Linked DNA regions of Homo sapiens: all the other regions are linked to region 1. Evidence: promoter capture Hi-C in 16 types of primary human blood cells and fetal thymus (Javierre and others, 2016). All regions are on one chromosome and are shown on one strand. Each heading gives the region's core, a stretch centred on a gene start or on the middle of the fragment in contact. The rest is flanking DNA. Distances are from core to core; before and after follow the strand shown. Region 1 holds the start of COLCA1 (colorectal cancer associated 1). Region 2 overlaps FDX1 (ferredoxin 1). Region 3 overlaps FDX1 (ferredoxin 1).

Region 1 (2,579 bases), core at 55-2,554:
CAAAACACAGATTTGAATGGAGATCTATACTCTGAATATTTACTATGTCTAGGGGGAAAGGGGGCTTAACAAATCCAGAAAAGTAAACGGGAATGCAATTTTGACTCTTTAGTTGTCCTAGCTAATTCAAGCTCCAGGGAAATGAACATGGTTAATAATGTGGAAACTGGCTGTAAAACTGGTTAGGGCAAAAATAAAAGGATGGTGACCCAATTTGTGTCCAAGTGTCACAGTCAAATAATGGCTCAAACTTCCCCTTTCTTGGGCTGTAAAACCATGGACATCCAGCCCCTACCGGCAGTTCACGTAAACCTCTCAGAAGTAACTGACAAAGTTGTTGAGGCTTTGAGAAAACTTCTGATGCTACGGGAAATAATTCTTTTGACTTATGGTGATTGCTTTTTTGAACTTTTCACTCTTACTCAGTAACTTAAGTTTGGAGGAGAGAATTTTGAGAAGTGATTTAAATGAGAATGCAAATGATAATCATGGAAACCAGGAACATAGAGTACCAATTAACACTATTGGCTCGGAAGTACAAAAAGCAAAAATGTTTTCTCAGTGAACATGTTAACATCATGATGTGATCAAAGTAAGTTGTTAAACATCAAACAAAGATAATCAGTAAACATTACTCCTTTTCCATTTTATTATTAATAGGCCCAATTTGTGATAATTATCTGTAAATGCTGGAAGAAGAGAGGATTAGAGTGTGCTCATCAAAGGGACTAAAGGACACTGTGTTCTTCTTGAGGTCTCAAGTTCCTTTAAGGTGAAGCTACGGTGACACATTTAGTGGGGAGAGGCCATAGGCAGAGGTTTCCTTATATACGACCTCCTTAAACTCTTAGCTGTTGAGTAGCAGAGGTAGGAGTGTTTATGTAATCGAGTTATTCTTATTGGGCTGAGAAAACCTACACTTGTTTGAACTGCTTTCTGGGAACAGAGAAGGGGAGGGAAGCCCCTGTCGGCTGGAAACTAAAGGAACAGAGCAAAGGCATTATTTGAGTGTCTTGGGATGTTCTGTATTCCATCTAACAGTGCACTAAAAAAAGATAAGTTCCTGAGAACAATTCTGATTTTGTAGTTCAGTTTAGTTACTTGGCGATGAGGAACTGGAATAAATGTGAAGAACAAACTCTTGAGACAATATAGCAGAGAGTAGAGAATTCAGAAATGAAGACAACATTTATGCTTGTTTTCTTGCTGGGCTTGCATGTGGAGTGACTATGCCTTTTTCACCTTCTGATTGGTTGGATTCCAATTAAATGGTGGTGCCTATCTTAACCCCTGAATCAAGACTGAAAGACTTTTGAGATGGACTTTTGAAAGAGTGTTTGAGGGAACTGTTAATGCTGGCTGTACTGACCTGCAGAAGATGGTGCAACTGGGTCTGAAAGGTGGACACTGCTGCCTCCGGACCGCTGTCAAAGCAAGAATATCACCGTGAAGCAGGCTGAAAGAAATGCTCTGAAGGGAAAGCTAAGACATTTTGATGAGGACTATGTTTCTTTCTGCTATAAGGTAAGCCAGATTCTTCCTTCTCAGAAAAAGTTGCTTTCTTTTTTTTTTTCAATGTTTGACAAATTTTTGTACAAAATATATTGTAAAAAACAAGTGAAAGGGAAAGTGTCAACAAATATTTTATAGAATTTGAAAGACAGGTGCATAGAATTGCGGTAGGTGTATTAAGTCCGTGTAGAATTTAAAATGCCTTTTGACGTTTATAATCCTTTTAAGATTCAATCTGGAAAATTGCATTGGAACAATGAAAACCTGAAATCGAATCATAAAACAGACTTCTTAAATACAACCAATATTATGTTTTATCTAGATCCAATATTTATGTTTGCTTGCTTGGGGAGTTTTTTTCCTAATATCAGATTCTTCTACTTAAATTTTAAAAGTGATTAATTTTTAGTAAAAAATTAATGTAAATAATTTTATGTGGTAAAAATGTAACAGTTTGAGAAAATGCAGCAAAAGGCTTCCTATTAAACTATTCGATTTAAAATTATTAAGGACTAACATTTATTTAATCTCAACTATCTATGGCTTAGTCAATTATTTTTCTCAAAAATTTCATATACCATCTGGCTACTTAGCCTTAGGGAGTCGTTTCCCCAAAGAACACAATTCTTAATTTTGTTAATTCTGAGTAGCTAAAAATATTCACATGTTCTTAGTATACATGAAATATTAAAATAGAAAATATTTTCTTAAAGCTGTGGTTGGTGAGTTGGAACCTACTTTCATTCTAGTTAATGGTCGGGAATTATTCCAGTACTTTGTATGTTTTGTACTACTATCTATAAAAGTTGCTTTTATTTAAACTACTGTATTTAAATACTTAAAAGTTTATGAGACTGCTCTTTTTAACTATTCAAAGTAAAGCAGCCTGCATTTTTCAGTTGAATTAATAATTATACTGAGTAATTTAGGATTTTTTTTTTTTTTTTAAATTTCAGGTGTGGCTTTAAAGTTTAAAGGTACCCGTATTGCTCTGTGATTCTGTGCTGGGAAGCCGAGCTCACCACACCTCTTTTGGGTTACAGGGCATACTCACTCCCATACTCTGA
Region 2 (2,579 bases), core at 1-2,500, 870 kb after region 1:
TGTAGTGACGGGGTGCCACCATGTTGCTCAAGCTGGTCTCAAATTCCTGGCCTCAAGCCATCTTCTCAACTTGGCCTCCTAAAACTCTGAGATTACAGGCCTGAGCCACCATGCCTAGCCGAAGGTATTTTCTTTTCTTTCCAAAGCTTATTTGGAAATCAAAGGCATATATATCTACCCACCTACCAGGTAATAAGCTCTACTACCTTACAGGAAATGGCAATGACTACCTGGTCAACGCCACCTGGTGGCCTCAGTATATGTCTCCCTAATAGTCACAGTTATAAAACATTTGGCAATTATTATCACTCATGAACTCTATTTTACTCTCATACAAGCCAGTGCAGTAGCTTGCACCTGTAACCCCAGTACTTCGAGAAGCTGAAGTGGGAAGATTGTTTGACGCCAGAAGTTTGAGACCAGCCTGGGCAACATGGCAAGATCCCATCTTTACAAAAAATAAAATAATTAGCCAGGTGTGGTGATGTGATCTGTAGTCCCAGCTAATTGGGAGGCTGAAACGGGAGGATCCCTTGAGCCCAGGAGGAGGAAGAGGCTGCAATGGGATATGATTGCACCACTGCACTCCAGCCTGGGCAACACAGCAAGACCCTGTCATTTAAAAAAGAAAAGGCCAAGTGTGGTGGCTCATACCTGTACTCCTAGCACTTTGGGAGGCCGAGGCAGGGGACTGCTTGAGCCCAGGAGTTTGAGACCAGCCTGAGCAACACAGAGAGACCCTATTGCTACAAAAAATAAAAATAAAAATGAGATGGTTGTAGGTGTATGAAAAATAAAAGGCATGGTGGTATTTGCCCATAGTACCAGCTACTCATGGGGCTGAGGTGGATCACCCGATCCCAGAAGTTCAGGGCTGCAGTGAGCCGTGATTACACCATTGCACTCTAACCTGGGCAACAGCTCAAGGCCCTGTCTCAAAAAAAAAAAAAAAAAAAAAAACAAAAAAAGTCATCACACAGCTCTCTGAAAAACATGAATGTGTCCATAAAAGACTAGACCAGGGTTGTAGTGAGCTTCTAAAAAGCAAATCATGGCCGAGCATGGTGACTCACGCCTGTAATTCCAACACTTTGGGAGGCCAAGGCGGGCGGATTACCTGAGGTCAGAAGTTCAAGACCAGCCTGGCCAACATGGCGAAACCCCGTCTCTACTAAAAATACAAAAATTAGGCATGGTGGTACATGCCTGTAATCCCAGCTACTCGGGAGGCTGAGGCAGGAGAATCGCTTGAACCCGGAAGGCAGAGGTTGCAGTGAGCCGAGATCAAACCACTGCACTCCAGCCCGGGTGGCAGAGTGAAACTCTGTCTCCAAAAAAAAAAAAAAAAAAATCAATAGGGCGATTGCTTTTCCAGTGCTACATAGAATACTACTGCTGAGAGATGTTGTTTAGTAGTTTTCTGCGTATTTGACATCTCATTTCAGTCCACATTGTATACTTACAAATCAAAGGGACTAGAAAAAGTTTATTTGTTTGAATCTGTAAGATAAATACCTCCTTACATGTTTTTTTAAGATAGTATGTTAACTATCAGCTAGCTGACTTAAATTTCCTTCACTTCTCACAAACATCCCTCCAAAATTTGAGAAGCCATTATACTAAAAACTAGATCCTTATTCCTCCACCATTGGTCATTTTAATTTTTACCTCACACTTGAAAAGATTCTCTTCAACTTAAAATAATGAGTTGTTATTCTTATTACTACCAGTAGATGGCAATAGCCCATCAAACAAATCTTTAAGTAAAACTCAGAATTAAATAATTTCAGAGCCATAACTATCTCGAAAGTTATCAAGTCCAGTGATCCCATTTCACAAATGAGGCAACTGAAGCCCCACTGGGATAATGCCCTCCCTAATATTATAACACTGGGAAAAAAAACAGGATTCTATTCATTAAAACTCATCAAAAGGGTGTGTGTGTGTGTACCAGAATGTTCCTCAAAAGGGCCTGCGCTCTCCAACTTCTTTTCACAGCCAAAACATGCTTTAAAACTAGTATTCCCACATATTATTCATAATTTTCAACATGAATAACTGCCATTTTTTTCAAAGTACAATGGCTGAGAATGAAAATACCCTAGAGGCAGGGAGGCCACTTTGGAGGTTATCAAAACAGCATAAACTAATCAGGGACAGAGAATGCAGTGACTTAACAGACATCCAGGAGGTAGACCAAAAGGTTTTAGTGACCATCTACATAAGATAAACTGAAAAGCGGAAAGAAAAACATTGGGATTTCCAGCTCACACAATTAGGTGGTACCATTTAACCTAGGTTTAAGACAGGAACCAAAGGAACTTTGGGGAAGACAGAAATAAGTTGAAGCTTAGACCTGCTGAATTTAATAATGAAAAAGCCAGATGAGAATGTCCAAACACCAGATGGCAATATGGGTATGGGTCTGAGCCCAGCAGAGAAGTCTAGAGATTTGACATCAACGAATGCCTGGTAGCTAAAGCTACAGGAAGCACATTAGAAAGAATTCCATCATTTATACACACTACTGAAAGCCAGAGGTTTCAGCGTTGCTGTTCTTCTGAAGCACTCTAGAGCTA
Region 3 (2,579 bases), core at 29-2,528, 850 kb after region 1:
AGTTTGTTTTGAGATTTAACCTATACGGTTTATTAAAAATTAAAGAATTTTAGAGAATATTGGAGACACCTAACCAAAAAGGGTATTTAGGAGGAAAAAAAAAAACCTGCAAAAATAAGGTAAATATTTGGGTATAAAAAAGAGCCTAAAACTGTAAGAAGAACAAGAGGCTATTTAAGAAAAAAAAAAAAAGTTACTCCTTTTCTGTTTTCTTTATCTCATAAAATATTGCCAATTTCATGAGAGCTATGTCCTCCAATTACTAGTTGTCTCTTTCAGTGTTCAGTTCTATGAGGCTTTTTGTTTTGTTGTGTTTGTTTGTTTTTTCAGACAGTCTTACTCTTGTTGCCTGGACTGGAGTGTAATGGTGCGATCTCGGCTCACGGCAACCTCCGCCTCCCGGGTTCAAGTGATTCTCCTGCCTCAGCCTCCTGGAGTAGCTGAGATTACAGGCATGAGCCACCATGCCTGGCTAATTTTTGTATTTTTAGCAGAGACGGGGTTTCACCATGTTGTCCAGGCTGGTCTCAAACTCCTGACCTCAGGTGATCTGCCTGCCTCAGCCTCCCAAAGTGCTGAGGTTACAGGCGTGAGCCACCGCACCTGGCCAGTTCTATGAGTTTTAATGTATGTATAGACTTGTGTAACCACCACCACACTGAGGGTACAGAGCAGCTTCCTCAGCCTAAAACTTTTAATTCCCTTTTGCTGTTGCTTTGTTGTCACAGTCTACCTCATCCCTAACCCCTGGTAACCACTGATCTGTTCTCTATCACTGTGGTTTAGTCTTTTCCAGAATGTTCATATAAATAGAATCATACAGTGTTTGACTGAAACTGGCTTCTTTCACTCAACACAATGCCTTTGAGATTCATCCAATGTGTTGCATGTATCTATAGTTTGCTCCCTTTCATTGCTAAGAAGCATTCCACTGTTTGAATGTCCCATGGTTTGTTTCTAGTAGGTATCTGGTGGTGTCACATTGTGACTTTCATTCACATTTTCTCCAAGAAATTAAAGGTGTAAAATATCTTTTTTTTTTTTTAACTTTGCCTCATTTTTTTCCCAAAGCCACTTGGGAGTATGACATCACCATTAGTCTCTTGTGCCTCTAGGAGAAACTCTAAACAACACAAACTCATTCACACATACAAGTTCAGGTCCAGATGCCCCTCAATCTTTTTATGAGCTTATTTGCCATCTCTAAATTCTCCTTGGTGAAGTGTCTGTTCATATCTTTTGCCCATTTTTTTAATTGTGTTGTTTTCTTACTGTTAAGTTTGGAGAGCTTTTTACATAGCCGGGATACAAGTCCTTTCACTGGATATGTGATTTACAAGTATTTTCTCCCAGTCTGTAGTTTGGCTTTTCAGTCCCTTAACAGTGTCTTTGGAAGAACAAAAGTTTTTAATTTTGATGAACTCTAATTTATTTTTCTTATATATAAGAATTTATATATAAATTCTTTTCCAGTCATGTCTAAGAATTCTCTGCCTACCTACCCACAGGTCCTAAAGATTTTTTCTTGTTCTTTCTTTTAGGAGTTTACAGTTCTAAGTTCTACATTTAGATCTAAGTCAATTTTGCATTCATGTTTTTATAAGATGTGAGGTTTAGGTTGATGCACCTTTTTTTTCCCACATGAATATCCAATTGATTCAACATCATTTGTTGAAAAGAATACCCTTTCTTCACTAATTGCTTTGCACCTTTGTCAAAAACCAATTGGCCATTGCCAAGAGGTGGAAACAACCCAAATATCTCTCAAGTGATAAAGAGATAAAGAAAATGTGGTATACGTAAGTGAGAACATGTGGTATTTGGTTTTCTGTTCCTGCATTAGTTTGCTGAGGATAATGGCTTCCAGCTCCATCCATGTCCCTGCAAAGGACATGATCTTGTTCCTTCTACGGCTGCACAGTATTCCATGGTGTATATGTACATTTTCTTTATCCAGCCTATCATTGATTGGCATTTGGGTTGATTCTATGTCTTTGCTATTGTGAATAGTGCTACAATGAACATATACATGCACGTATTTTTATAACAGAATGATTTATATTCCTTTGGGTATATACCCAGTAATGAGATTGCTGGGTCAAATTGTATTTCCAGTTCTAAATCTTGGAGGAATCACCACACTGTCTTCCACAATGGTTGAACTAATTTTCATTCCCACCAACAGTGTAAAAGTGTTCATATTTCTCTGTAACCTCACCACATCTGTTGTTTCTTGACTTTTTAATAATCACCATTCTGACTGGCATGAGACCCTGTCTCTTTAAAAAAGTAGAAGAAAAGCAGCAGCAGCTACAATTACAAGAGTTAGAAGGTGCAATGCATTTTATCCCAAAAAACAAGCTATAAATGGTGATTAAGTCAGTTGTGAAGAAATAGGTTCTGTGTGTTGGCTCAAAAATTTAGCCAACATTATTTTTTATGGGAAAACAAATTCCAAATAACAAGCAGCTGACCTGAAAATAGATTATGGAAACAAAAGCTATTCACAAAATGGGGAGCTTTTTTTTTTTTGGCTTTTCATATACACAGAGAACCCTACAAAATAAACAGTGGAAGAT

What was found. Contacts are between HindIII fragments. The CHiCAGO score rates a contact against its expected background, and 5 or more counts as called.
Region 2: a contact is called between a fragment that was not itself captured here and the fragment with the promoter of COLCA1 in region 1, in 1 of 17 cell types (total B cells). The highest score is 6.4, in total B cells.
Region 3: a fragment that was not itself captured here is called in contact with the fragment with the promoter of COLCA1 in region 1 in 2 of 17 cell types (naive B cells and total B cells); the score reaches 9.7 in naive B cells.

What each region holds. Positions count from the first base shown.
Region 1 is chr11:111,303,773-111,306,351 of GRCh38, reverse strand. It overlaps COLCA1 (colorectal cancer associated 1), which reads left to right and starts at 1,304. Exons shown (of 2, transcript NR_169237.1): 1 at 1,304-1,524. It overlaps POU2AF3 (POU class 2 homeobox associating factor 3), which reads right to left. Exons shown (of 5, transcript NM_001271458.2): 3 at 1,370-1,424. The HindIII fragment of the contact is 13,879 bases long and covers 1-2,579 here.
Region 2 is chr11:110,433,107-110,435,685 of GRCh38, reverse strand. The region is part of intron 1 of FDX1 (ferredoxin 1); the gene reads right to left. Among named protein-coding and RNA genes, the nearest start is that of FDX1, 4.4 kb to the right of the region's middle. The HindIII fragment of the contact is 2,203 bases long and covers 149-2,351 here.
Region 3 is chr11:110,451,085-110,453,663 of GRCh38, reverse strand. The region is part of intron 2 of FDX1 (ferredoxin 1); the gene reads right to left. Among named protein-coding and RNA genes, the nearest start is that of FDX1, 22 kb to the right of the region's middle. The HindIII fragment of the contact is 3,804 bases long and covers 1-2,579 here.